Linked DNA regions of Homo sapiens: region 1 is linked to region 2. Evidence: promoter capture Hi-C in human tissues and cell types (Jung and others, 2019). All regions are on one chromosome and are shown on one strand. Each heading gives the region's core, a stretch centred on a gene start or on the middle of the fragment in contact. The rest is flanking DNA. Distances are from core to core; before and after follow the strand shown. Region 1 holds the start of IGDCC3 (immunoglobulin superfamily DCC subclass member 3). Region 2 overlaps LOC105370866 (a long non-coding RNA gene).

Region 1 (6,612 bases), core at 3,960-6,459, 480 kb after region 2:
TCTCCTGCCTGGGTTCAAACTCTGCATCCTTCTCTAACAACGTGACTACCTCATGTCTGCTTCAAGGCCCCCGTGCCCTTCCTGTATCCGCGGCTGCCGCGCACTCGCCTGCCATCCTCCTGCCTCCTCTTCACTCAGTGCTTCTGCTTGCCCTGCCCCAGGCAGCCCACCCACGCCCAGTGCGGGTGTGGAGAAGATCTTCTGGCTTCCCTGCATCTTGCCTTTGGGATTGGGATCCAAGGGTTCTCCATGGATGGATCCAAGTCATAGAGGGGAATGTTTGAGACAGGGAAGGGGGCTGTGATCCAGAGGCTCAGAATAAAAAGATGCCCTCCCTTCTATGCAGGGGGGCAAGTTTACTGGATGGAGATGATTTGGGCCTCTCTTCCAGAAGAAGCTAAAGGAAGAGAAGGGGAGTGAGAGTTCAGGGAGGCCCTTCCCACCCTGTGAGGCTTGACTTGATCTGGATTGGGGATGACAGGAATCTCACCCTCTGGGGTGCTGGCAAGGAGGTCTTTGCACAGGAAAAGGGGTAGCTCATTTCAGTTTGTTTTTTCTTTAAATTGAATCCTCAAGTCATTTTCTGTTCACCTGCCGCACAGGGACAAGCTTGACTTCTATTTTCTGTGTAGTGAAAACAATGTCATTTATTTGGTTTTTCACCTCAGCCCTCTCATAGGAGCATAGAATGTTAGGGTCTTTACTCCCTAATGATGTCTGATTGGCACATCAAGAGTTAACTCTGCCTTCTGGGCCAAATTCGAAATAACCAGTCCATTTTTCCTTTTTTTTTTTTTTTTTTTTAAATGGTGGAATGTCTCTCAGCACAGTTGCGGCTTCCTCAAACCCTGAAAGCATCTGTGTTTATTATACTCGGGTGTCACTCACTGTTGATGTCTGCACCTACGTTTCCACCTCCTCCCCCTCCTTCAGCCAGCCTATGATAACACTAAAGATTATTAATGTTGGTTTTGTATCTCGTTAAAGACAGAATTGTCACTTGTAGTATTTCTGTAGCATTCAGCGCTGCTGTGGCTAACACCACTGTGTATGTTTCATCATTGCTCTGAAGGTCAAAAGCCTCATTTTATTTTGCTGGTTTGATTTTTTTTTTTTAAAGAAGAAAAAAAAACTGCCCTGAATTAAATGGCTGTTTTAACAGTAGGCTCTTAGCATTATACCACATAGTCATTTTTCATGTTCTTGTTTAACAGGCACTGAGGTTCTGGTTTAAATTAAATAGCTGCAAATGAGACAATTTATAACCCATTAGGTTGGGTGGAAAATTGTTTCTCAAAAGCAAATAAGTAATAAATCTGGTATCTGCCTATAACTCACAGTTGATAAGAAAGTGGCCATTTCTCACTAGCACTATATATGATTTGGGCTCTGGGTAATTTGGAAGTGTTAGGTTTGTGTCTTTGTAGCAGTATTTTTATTAGAAAAGAATCTATTGGCCTTTTACAGGGTATTAATCCCTTTGTCACCTACCATTGATGCCTTAAGTTTTCTGAGTCTCAATTAAAAATCTTCCTTTTCTTGATGCATGACAAGTGTAATCAGTACTTGCTCATTTATTTGTCTGTATTTAGTTTATGCTGTACTATTTAATTATCCTTCCAGCGTTTTTTTTTTCTCCTTACAAATATGATACTCTTTAGTGTTAAGCTAAGGCATTGATTCATGTATCTGTCCTTATAATGAATTAATAAACTATTTTCCAGAAATGTGGAATTCTCTTTTGGAACCATTGACCATGACTAGAATTTCCTCAGCCTTTGTGCCCTAGGGATTTTATTTCTTACTGTGATGGGAAATGATGTTGTTGTTGTTTTTGAGATGGGATCTCTCTGTCGCCCAGGCTGGAGTGCAGTGGCACAATCACAGCTCACTGCAGACTCAACTTCCTGGGTTCAAGCAGTCTTGTCACTGTAGCCTCCCTAGTAGCTGGGACTACAGGCACATGCCACCATGCCTGGCTAATATTAAAAAAAATTTTTGTTATAGAGATGTGGTCTCGTTATCTTACCCAGACTGGTCTCGAACTCCTGGGCTAAAACCATCCTCCTGCCCCAGCTTCGAAAAGTGCTCGATTACAAGCATGAGCCACTGCCTCTTGGCCCAAAATAGTGTTTTGTTTGTTTGTTTGTTTGTTTGTTTGTTTTTTCAGACTAATCTCACTTTGTCGCCTAGGCTGGAGTGCAGTGGCATGATCTCGGCTCACTGCAACCTCTGCCTCCCGGGTTCAAGTGATTCTCCTGCCTCAGCCCCCCGAATAGCTGGGATTACAGGCATGCACCACCACACCCGGCTAATTTTTGTATTTTTAGTAGAGACGGGGTTTCACCATGTTAGCCAGGCTGGTCTCAAACTCCTGACCTCAGGTAATCTGCCCGCCTTGGCCTCCCAAAGTGCTGGAATTACAGGCATAAGCCCCTGCGCCCGGCTCAAAATGGTGGTTTTTGAGGGTAAAAAGCAGGTGGTCATGGGAAAGAACTAAACCATCTTCCTCCCTCAACAGGCACTTAGGAAAAAGACGTAAACTTAGGAAAGATGTGTCCTTTGATGGCACTTCCTTAGACTCTCTGGGGATCTCTTTCCATCTGGGCACACATTTCTCTGAACTTTTTTGGGTGCAGGAAAGAGGGAACAACTCCAGAGATTTGGGCTCCACAACTATTCTCCTGTATAACTCTGGTCACCAAAATTACTCATGGCCACACAATCACACACACGTGCACTGTGTGTACAAGCTCAGAGACCCGCACATGCATACTTTGCCTTCACAAACACCCTTGTGTCTGTCCGTTAATGCAAATGTGCACACAGTCTCACACACAAAACTCCACACTCACACCCCACACACATCTTGGCATCACAGTTGGCAGCTGCTGTCTGCTAAGATCTTTACAGAGCCCGGAACATGCTTTCTATTGGAGGGAATCAAGAGCTAGAGGCTGCTTTGCTCAGGACCACCCCCAAAGTGGTGGGCCAGACCCAGAGTTAATTGACAGATCAGACAGAGAGATACTGCACATTTTGCACTCGGCAGAATAGCCATTATTTGCATATCACTCTCAGACCAAGGGTTGTGATAAAGAAGAATTAAACACTTGTCAAAATGAATTTAAAATGACAGCAATTCAAGAGACCAATTTGACCTCTTCAGAGTCCAGGACAAGCCAAGAAGGGGTTGTTGAGAATTCAAGCCCTGCAGGAGGGAGTTCCAGGATTTTAGGCCCAGGGAGGGCCCTTCCCCTCCCTTTCCTAAGGCCAGTAGACCACCACTCCCACCCTTTCTCACAATGAAATCCAATAGGGCTTTGGCACATTGGAGTCCTCCACCTAGAATTTTTCCATTGCTTCCCGCTGTTCACATGCCTCATGTCCTGCTTCTCAGGCTCATCTTCCAGTAGCTGCCCTAGAGTGAACAGTCCTGAGCTATGCCAACCTCATCATTAGTAAACCTGTCCATCTACAGGCACTCTGATTTCTGGAGGCCTGTACTTCCTTACTTATCCGTATCAAAGTTAGTTTTTTGTTTGTTTGTTTGTTTCGAGACGGAGTCTTGCTCTGTCGCCCAGGCTGGAGTGCAATGGTGCAATCTCAGCTCACTGCAACGTTTGCCTCCCGGGTTCAAGCTATTTTCCTGCCTCAGCCTCCCGAGTAGCTGGGATTACAGGCGCCTGCCACCACGCCCGGCTAATTTTTTTGTATTTTTAGTAGAGATGGTGTTTCATCACATTGGTCAGGCTGGTCTCGAACTCCTGACATCAGGTAATCCACCCGCCTCAGCTTCCCAAAGTGCTGGGATTACAGGCGTGAGCCACCGTTAGTTTCGTACATGGTCCCAAAGTTCCAGAGTTGGTATCAAAAGAAAGACTTAGTTTTTCCTCTGCCATCCCAGTCCAGTGCCAAAGGAGCAAATAGCTACATTAGGCCAACTTTTATTATTTATTTATTTATTGAGACAGGGTCTGTGTTGCCCAGGCTGGAATACAGTGGGACTCCAGGCATGCACCGCCATGCTTGGCTAATGTTTGTATTTTTTGTAGAGACAGGTTTTCACCATGTTGCCCAGGCTGGTTTTGAACTCCTGGGTTCAAGTGATCTGCCCACCTCGGCCTCCCAAAGTGCTGGGATTACAGGTGTGAGCCACTAAGCCTAGCCTGCCAGCTTTAATTCTCTAGCTCCTAGAACTTAGTAGCTGCTCAATAATTTTGATGGACTAGTCCATCATGCTGGACTCAACAGAAGACCATTTAATAGAGAGTGGCTGAGATTCAAGATCTCTGAGGGCTAGTATGGGTATGTCTCTGCTAAAAGACATGCTTATCTTCTGTAACATTCTCACGTGGGACCTCTGTTGTCTCCTTATATGTTCTCTGACATGAACGATTGAGGGCCTTCTTTGTGGCACAGAAACGTTACTGGGAATTTTAACTTTCTATGTGCTTTTCCAGTTACCAGGTCATTTGTCAGGACCTCTGCGGTTTAAAGGTCTCTAGGGATGAACAGGAGAGATAAGATTATTTTCATCTTTCAGATGAGCTCAGTGAGAGTGACTGGGCTAGGCAGCAGGCAGAACCCAGGTCGGAAGCCAGGCCCCTTTAGAGCTCTCATTGTCCTGCTGCTGGGTCTGCTCTCTCCAGGCAATCCTCCCCAGCGGAGCGCCAGGACTCCTCGGTCCAGAGAAGCCAAGCTTGCAGCTACAGGATCTATCCTTTGAGTGGAAGGACCAGAAATCCATGGAAAACTGAATCTTTGACAACTTTACGCAGCTTTTTAGAGAATTATCTCTAAAATATGGACTTGGAGGAGGGCGCAGCAGAAAGAGTGGGTCAGAGCAAATCCCGCAGCTGTGTGTCTTTCCGCAGCCCGGACCCACTCCCCAGTCCGCTGGTGTCCACTTCCTCAGCCCCCCAGGTCCCCGGCTGGCCCGCGGGGAGGGGATACCCGGCTGCAGCCCGGGACGGCGCCGGCCGCTCCAGCCACAGTTCAAAGCGCAGGGGGCGCGTCCGCCGCGCAGCCGGGAATGTCCGGCCGCTTAAAGCGCTCGCCGGCTCTTTTGTTCCCCAGACCGGGCCTCCGGGGAGAGGGGGCTGGGGGAGGGGACCGGGAGCAGAGAGGAGGGGGGCGGCGGGCTGGGGAGGAGGGCGGGGCGGCCGCGAGCGGTGCGAGTGTGGAGCGCGCACCCCGGGCGAGGCTGACAGATCGCCCGGGTGGGTGCAAGATGGCGCAAGCGGCGCTCCCCCTGCGCCCCCCGCGCTGCTGAGCAGGCATGCGGCCCCAGTCCCCCACCGCCTGGGCTCGGCCCCGGCCGGAGCCCCAGCCCCGGCCCCGGCGCCGGCCCCGCGGGACGCTGTGAGCCGCGAGAGGCCCGGGAGCCGCGCGTCGCCGAGCCGAGCTGACCGAGAGCCCCATGGCTGTGCAGCGCGCCGCGTCTCCGCGCCGCCCGCCCGCCCCGCTCTGGCCCCGGCTCCTGCTGCCGCTGCTGTTGCTGCTGCTGCCCGCGCCGAGCGAGGGTGAGTGAAAGCGCCCCGGACCGGGCGGTTGCGGACGGAGCCAGGGGAAGGGCGAGCAGGGAGGGAGCGGGCGCGAGGGGCGGACCCGGGGAGAGCGGCGCGGACCTGAGGGCGGACCCCGCGCGGGGGGGACCCTGCGGATCCGGACGGGGAGAGGGTACCAAGGCCGGACTGCTGGGGGCCCTAGGGGCGTGTTGAGGACGGAACCCCCCGGAGGAAGACTGGGGCAGGACCCGGAGCCCAGACTGAGGAGCAAGGAGTGCAGCGAAGCGGGAGCAAGCGGGGCGGGCTGGCGTGGAGACCGAGGGAAACGAGCCAGGGGAGACCGCAAGGCTAAGCGCTGACCGAGGCGGACGAGCTGGGGTGCTGGGTGCCCGGCCGTGGACATAGCCCGAGGCAGCCAAGACAGGGGACAGCAGCCTGGGGAGCGGAGACCGGGACTCTGACGGCTGCACTGGGCGGAGATGGCACGACCTGCATTTGGAGCTGGTACTGGGCTGAGGAGTGCGCGGGAGAGACAGGAGAAGACGAGGGAGATTCCTGGAGGGCGGCGCGTGGCTAGGGAGCGACCCGGGACAGAGCCCGTGAGCCAAGAAGGAGAGGAGAAGCCACCGAAAGCGAGAGCGAGCGAGCCGCGGGGATGCTCACGTGCCCCTGCCCTTCCCCGAAGTGTGCACACGCGGAGACCTTGCCCTGGCTCTCGCGGTCCGCCGGTTCTGCTGCCTGGAGCTCGGCTCTGCTGCCTGGAGCTCGGTCACCACCACTCTGTTCCCTTTAGTGGCTGCAATGGTCCCATCTCCCGGGAGGAGAGTGCAAATCTAGTCCCTTAACCCTCCCACCTCAAGTTCCCCACAGACACTCATCTGGGCTATTCTCTCTCCACTCCTCTCCCAAGAAGTAGAAGCTCGCGTCCGCATCAAGGAAAAACTTTATTCCCGACAGCTATACCAGGGTTGGATTCGGGGCTAAGACGGGTGAACTCACGACATGGGGAGGATGCGCAGGGGTTTGAATAAGTGCGATCCTAAAAAGTCTTAAAACATTACATCTTCCTGGGCCGGGGACGGGGGGAGGGGGGCGCGGGGGG
Region 2 (7,152 bases), core at 4,274-6,773:
GAATCCCAGTTTCTTACCTGCAAAATGGGGACAAACAGGAAGAAGGAATTAAGTAACAATGTATAGCTGTTAATATCATGCATGGCATATAATAAATATTTATGAATGCATTGATTTTCTTTTCTCTTTTTTTTTGAGTCAGGGTCTTGCTGCGTCACCCAGGCTGGAGTGCAGTAGTGCGATGTCAGCTCACGGCAACCTCCATATGCTGGGCTCAAGCAATTCTCCCACCTCCACCTCCACCTCCCAAGCAGCTGGGACTACAGGTGTGCGCCATCGCACCTGGCTAATTTTTGTATTATTTGTAGAGATGGGGTTTTGCCATCTTTGCCCAGGCTGTTCTTGAACTCCTGAGCTCAAGCGATCCTCCCACCTCAGCCTCCAAAAGTGCTGAGATTACAGGAATAAGCCACTGCACCTGGCCAAATGCAATGATTTTCAACGGGTCAATTTGGTCCCCAGAGACATTTGATAATATCTGGAGACATTTTTAGTGTCACTACTTGGGAGTGCTACTGGTATCTAGTAGAGACCAGGGATACTGCTAAACGTTCTACAACACACAGGATAGCACTCCCATCAAAAAGAATTATCTGGCCCAAAATGTTAATAGTTACCAAAGTTGAGAACCATGAGTTATTATTTTAAGAATTAGCCAGATGCGAGGCCAGAGCCTATGATGGGAAAGGGGCAGGGTGCCATGATCCTCACCTCCCTGTCCTAGCTCATTTGAAGAAAGCGAACTCACTCCCTAGGTCTCAGGAAGAATGCCCAGGGACAGACGTTCCTCCCGTCAGTATCCCATAAAGCAGAGCCTGGGGGCCACCGGCCTGACACAGAAAGCTTCCATAGTGGCTTCCATTTGTTAAATAAACCTATCACTCTTCTATTTCTTTCTTTTTTCTTATTTTTTTCAAGATGGAGTCTCTCTTTATCGCCCAGGCTGGAGTGCAGTGGTACTAACTCGGCTCACTGCAACCTCTGCCTGCCAGGTTCAAGTGATTATCCTGCCTCAGCCTTCTGAGTAGCTGGCATTACAGGCATGCACCACCACACCGGGCTAATTTTTGTATTTTTGTAGAGACAGGGTTTCACCATGTTGGCCAGGCTGATCTCAAACTCCTGACCTCAAGTGATCCACCCACCTCGGCCTCCCAAAGTGCTGAGATTACAGGTGTGAGCCACCGCGCCCGGCCTCAGTGTTCTATTTCTTAACTCAAAGGATTTTTACAGGGTTGTTCCCTTTATAACTGTGTGTTAAACTCTACATACCAGTTTTATGCACTTTTGTAATAGTATTAGGTTTATTTCACAATACAATTTTTAGATGGGGCATGGTGGCTTGTGCCTGGGAGGCCAAGGTAGGAGTATCACTTGATGCCAGGAGTTCAAGACCAGCCTAGGCAACCTAGCGAGACCCCCCCTATCTCTACAAAAAATGGAGAAATTAGCCAGACATGATGGCACCTATGTACCTATAGTCCCAGCTACTCAGGAGGCTGAGGTGGGAGGATCACTTGAGCCGAGGAGTTCAAGGTTACAATGAGCCATGATCATACCACCACACTGCAACCTGGGCAACAGAGCAAGACTCTGTCTCCAAAAAAAAAACAAAAATGTTTTTGAGAGAGAAAAGTTGACAAACCTTATGAAGTGAAATTTGGCCCAGCATGGTGGCTCCTGTCTGTAATCCCAGCAATTTGGGAGGCCAAGGCAGGCAGATTGCCTAAGCTCAGGAGTTTGAGACCTGCCTGGGCAACATGGCAAAATCCCATCTCTACTAAAAATAAGAAAAAATAGCCAAGTATGGTTGCGTTCACCTGTAGTCTCAGCTGCTTGGGAGGCTGAGGTAGGAGAATAGCCTGAGCCCAGGGAAGTCAAGGCTGCAGTGAGCTGTGATTGCATGACTGCACTCCAGCCTGGGCAACAGAGCGAGACCCTGTCTCCAATAAAATAAAAATAAGTAAAAAATTTAAAAAGAGGTGAAATTTGTCTTTTGTCTTTTTTATCTTTTATATTATATAGAATATATATTAGAATCTATAATACCATATTATATATATTAGAATCTATATAATACCATATTATATATATTAGAATCTATATATACCATATTATATATATTAGAATCTATATATACCATATTATATATATTAGAATCTATATATACCATATTATATATATTAGAATCTATATAACACCATATTATATATATTAGAATCTATATAACACCATATTATATATTAGAATCTATATAACACCATATTATATATATCAGAATCTATATAACACCATATTATATATATCAGAATCTATATAACACCATATTATATATATCAGAATCTATATAACACCATATTATATATATCAGAATCTATATAACACCATATTATATATATCAGAATCTATATAACACCATATTATATATATCAGAATCTATATAACACCATATTATATATATCAGAATCTATATAACACCATATTATATATATCAGAATCTATATAACACCATATTATATATATCAGAATCTATATAACACCATATTATATAAGAATCTATATAATACCATATTATATATATCAGAATCTATATAATACCATATTATATATATTAGAATCTATATAATACCATATTATATATAGTATATTATGAGGTGACAAATTGTGTACATGATCAGGAAAATTCTCAGCTTTGATTGGCTGGGTTTTTGTTTGTTTGTTTGAGACAGTCTTGCTCTGTCACCCCAGGCTGGAGTGCAGTGGAGTGATCTTGGCTCACTGCAACCTCTGCCTCTCAGGTTCAAGCGATTCTCCTGCCTCAGCCTCCCGAGTAGCTGGAATTACAGGCACATGCTACCACGCCCAGCTAATTTTTGTATTTTTAGTAGAGACAGGGTTTCGCCATGTTGACCAGGCTGGTCTCGACCTCTTGACCTCTGGTGATCCACCTGTCTCACCCTCCCAAAGTGCTGGGATTACAGGCATGAGCCACCACACCTGGCCTGATTATTTGTTTGTAGTAACTAAAGTATCAGCTAGTCTTAAAGAAAAAAGTGATAAAATATACATATTTACAAATAAATGTACTAGGCCAGGTGTGGTGGCTTAAGCCTGCGATCCCAGCACATTGGGAGGCCAAAGCAGGAGGATTGCTTGAGGTCTGGAGTTCGAGACCCCTGGCCAACACGGCAAAACCCCATCACTACTAAAAATACAAAAATTAGCTGATGTGATGGCGCATGCCTGTGATCCCAGCTACTCAGGTGGCTGAGGCACGAGAATTGCTTGAACACAGGAGGCAGAGGTTGCAGTCAGCCAAGATCGCACCACTGCACTCTAGCCTGGGTGACAGAGCGAGACCATCTCAAAAGAAAAGAAAAGAGGTAGTGGTGATGGTTGCACAGCATTGCAAATGTACCTAATGTCACTGAATTATACACTTAAATGGCTAAAATGGTAAATTTTGTTATGTGTATTTTACCACAAAGAAAACTAAAAGGAACTTAAATCTCAGATTTTATCATAATAAAGACAAAAAACAGAAGGTTAGGATGAAGGGGCTGATAGTGGTGCAAGACTGGGACAGGCTCCTGTGAGGTCCTTAGTCTTCACAAGATCCCTGTCTCTCTGGGGGCTGTTTGCCTCTTTCCTGACAGTCTCCCAGAATTCCTGTGGACTGGCTGGCTTTCAAGACCAAAATCAGCTTGTTCACCCTTGACCACACCCAGCCCAGAAAAGACACCTCCATTGGCCTCTGAAATCCCACCACAGAGTCATTTCTTTAGCTACGTACTGATTGCCAGCTCCTCCCCTTTCCCCACACCCCCACCATGTGCCTCTGTATATGGCTGTGTGTTTACTACTGCCTCCTAGAGGAGTGAACTGGCCTTGGCTCTGTGGGACTCCATCATGTTCCTGCATTCTCCCATGTGGATAAGAACTATGCTCACTCAAAGGAGGAGAAAAAAACTAGTAGAGTCTCATTTTTGTTTCTCAATCATTTATTTAGAAAATACTAGACCTTTTGGTAATGTAAAAACAAAAATACCACAATATTAAATTGTCAGGTGAGCAAAAAGAAGATAAAGCTGATACTTCTTAGGCTAGGTGTGGTGGCTCACACCTGTAATCCCAACACTTTGGGAGGCCAAGGTGGGAGGATCACCTGAGGTCAGGAGTTCAAGACCAGCCTGGTCAACATGGGTAAACCCCGTCTCTACTAAAAATACAACAATTAGCAGGCATGGTGGTGGGCACCTGTAATCCTAGGTACTCGGGAGGCTGAGGCAGGAGAATCACTTGAACCCGAGCAGCGGAGGTTGCAGTGAGCCAAGATTGCGCCAGGGCACTCCAGCCTGGGCAACAGAGTGAGACTCCTTCTCAAAAAAAAAAAAGAAATAAAAAAGATAAAGATACAAAGATGACACTTCTAGATGTGGAGCCAAGGCTTAGAACAGGGGAATAATTACTGTGCAACTTCATCGATCCACCCCTAGGTATTTACCCAAAAGAAATGAAAGTATATACCCACACAAAAAGCTGTATGCAAATGTTCATAGCAGACTTTTTTAAAAAAATTTTTTTTTGAGACAGAGTATCATTCTGTCACCCAGGCTGGAGTGCAGTGGTACAATCTCAGCTCACCGAAGCCTCTGCCTCCTGTGTTCAAGCGATTCTCGGATAGCAGTCTTATTTGCAATAGAAAAAACTGAAAGCCCAAATGTCCATAAACAGGTGAATGGGGAAGCAAATTTTGGTAAATCCACACAATAGACTATTATTCATTAACAAAAAAGAATCAACTACTGATAAACATAACAATGTGAATGAATCTGAAAATAATCATGCTGAGTGAAAGAAGCCAGAGGGGGAAAAAAGAGTACATATTGTATTATTTCATTTATATAAAGTCTACAGAATGCAAACTGACTTATGGTGACAGAAAGCAGAAAGCAGATTGGTAGTTGTCTGGGGACAGAGTAGAGAAAGACAGGAAGGATTACAAGGTATGAAGACTTTTTGGAGACAGGGTCTGGGTTTGTTGCCCAGGCTGGAGTCAGCGGCAAGATCACGATTCAATGCAGCCTTGACCTCCCAGTCTCAAGTGATCCTCCCCACACCAGCCTCCTAAGTATCTGGGACTACAGGCACATGCCACCCCACCCAGATAATTTTTTTGTAATGTTTGTAGAGACAGGGGTCTCCCTCTATTGCTCAGCCTTGTCTCAAACTCCTGGGCTCAAGCGATCTGCCCGCCTCAGCCTCCCAAAGTGCTGGGATTACAGGTGTGAGCCACTGAGCCCAGCTGACACTTGCAGGGATAATGGATATGTTCATTATCTTTATTGTGCTAATGGTTTCACAGGTGTATACATATCTCAAAACTCATCAAATTTCACATTTTAAACAGGTGCTCTGTATTGTTTTCTGGAAAGAGAGAGCAAGATCAAGAAAGAAAAAGGAGAGCACAAAAACAGAAAGTCCTCCCTCATCTTTGATATTCTTGAATGCAAGATTGGAATACTCAGATGCCAAAAATCATTATCACTACTCTCATACACACTAACCACTAAGTCACCTACATGGTTCCTTTCCTTTTTTTTTTTTTTTTTTTTTTTTTTGAGATGGAGTCTTGTTCTGTCACCCAGGCTGGAGTGCAGTGGCACGATCTCGGCTCACAGCAACCTCCGCCACCCGGGTTCAAGTAATTCTCCTGCCTCAGCCTCCCGAGTTGCTGGGATTACAGGCACGTGCCACACCGCCCAGCTAATTTTTTGTATTTTTAGTAAAGACGGGGTTTCACTGTGTTAGCCAGGATGGTCTCGATCTCCTGACCTTGTGATCCACCTGCCTTGGCCTCCCAAAGTGCTGGGATTACAGGCATGAGCCACTGTGCCCAGCCCATGGTTCCTTTCTTTACAATATCTCTTGGTATGTTTCTTTCCATTCCCATAGCCACCACTCTGGTGTGATTTCCTTCTCCACTGTTTGGTTACAACCTAACCCTACCCTCAGTTTTCTCCCACTTCAATCCAACATGCTGGTGGCTGCCAGAATAATCTTAACAAATGACACCTCCAACTGCATGATTCCTATTATTCAGAGCCATCATTGAAATATCTATGTAAGTCCACACATGCCTGAAAACAAAAGGTTATAAAAATAAAATGTTAGCAGTGGTTATTTCTGCAGAATAGGATTACAGGTGATTTTTATTATTTTGTTTATCTGTTTTCTATATTTTATAGGAGATTTTAAAATAAAAAAAGCTTTACTGGTCTTGCTTGTTACAAAAGGAATGAACAGTCATTGTAAAATAGTCAAATAACACAAACAATATAGAAGTACAGTAAACTTGGAAAGTGAAGTTTGTTTCCTCCTGGCTGCCAACATTGTGGTTTCCTCCCCAGCACCACCCCACCCCTTCCATCCAGAAAACAGCCAGGCAGTTTGGGTGGGATTATCCCTACCCACAGCTCCAGGAGTGGCTTCTGGAATTATCTAACCCTGAGGTTCTCAATCCTAACATCCAAACCCTGATATTGTAACAAACGTTTCATAACACTGTCTTTACCATCCTGACATCAATAGATCTTATCTTATGATATACCTTCCTGCACACATAATTTTAAGTTGGGAGTCAAGCTTGCTGATATTTTAGTGTTTTCTTTATTTTATATATGTGTATGTGTGTCTTTGTATGCCCATGCAGGCATGTACATATCATACATCCTATTTTAGTTGTTGAGTACATATTACACTTAGAAAAAGTTACATAGGAAAACACCAGAGTTGAAGAAAGATGTCAACCATCATTTTAGAGAACCTTTTGAGTGCTGCATAGGTGAGTGCACACACTTTAAAAATCAATATAATGCTATAAGTATAAAGGATAAATAAGAAAATAATGCATTATAAAAAGATATGTGTTTCAATAAGTAAATGCTTGATGGCGGGCGTGGTGGCTCACACCTGTAATCCCAGCACTTTGGGAGGCTGAGGCAGGAGGATCAGTTGAGCCCAGCCTGGGCTATGGTAGTAAGACCTCGTCTCTACAAAAAAAAAAAAAAAAAAAAAAGTAAATGCTTGAGCACAAGTGTAATAGAAGACATAATGAAGTAATTAGATACTTGCACCTAACAGAATCACCAT

The links. The method cuts DNA at HindIII sites, captures the fragments that hold promoters and counts their contacts. A contact is called where the count stands out against the background at its distance.
Region 1: a contact is called between the fragment with the promoter of IGDCC3 here and a fragment that was not itself captured in region 2, in 1 of the 25 tissues and cell types used here (hippocampus).

The regions. Positions count from the first base shown.
Region 1 is chr15:65,376,599-65,383,210 of GRCh38, reverse strand. It overlaps IGDCC3 (immunoglobulin superfamily DCC subclass member 3), which reads left to right and starts at 5,209. Exons shown (of 14, transcript NM_004884.4): 1 at 5,209-5,525. The coding sequence starts at 5,423. It overlaps IGDCC4 (immunoglobulin superfamily DCC subclass member 4), which reads left to right. Exons shown (of 20, transcript NM_020962.3): 20 at 1-1,727. The HindIII fragment of the contact is 8,726 bases long and covers 2,657-6,612 here.
Region 2 is chr15:65,859,519-65,866,670 of GRCh38, reverse strand. It overlaps LOC105370866 (a long non-coding RNA gene), which reads right to left. Exons shown (of 3, transcript XR_932372.2): 3 at 6,188-7,052. Among named protein-coding and RNA genes, the nearest start is that of TRQ-CTG1-4, 6.0 kb to the left of the region's middle. RefSeq lists a silencer at 3,332-3,381. The HindIII fragment of the contact is 3,934 bases long and covers 3,557-7,152 here.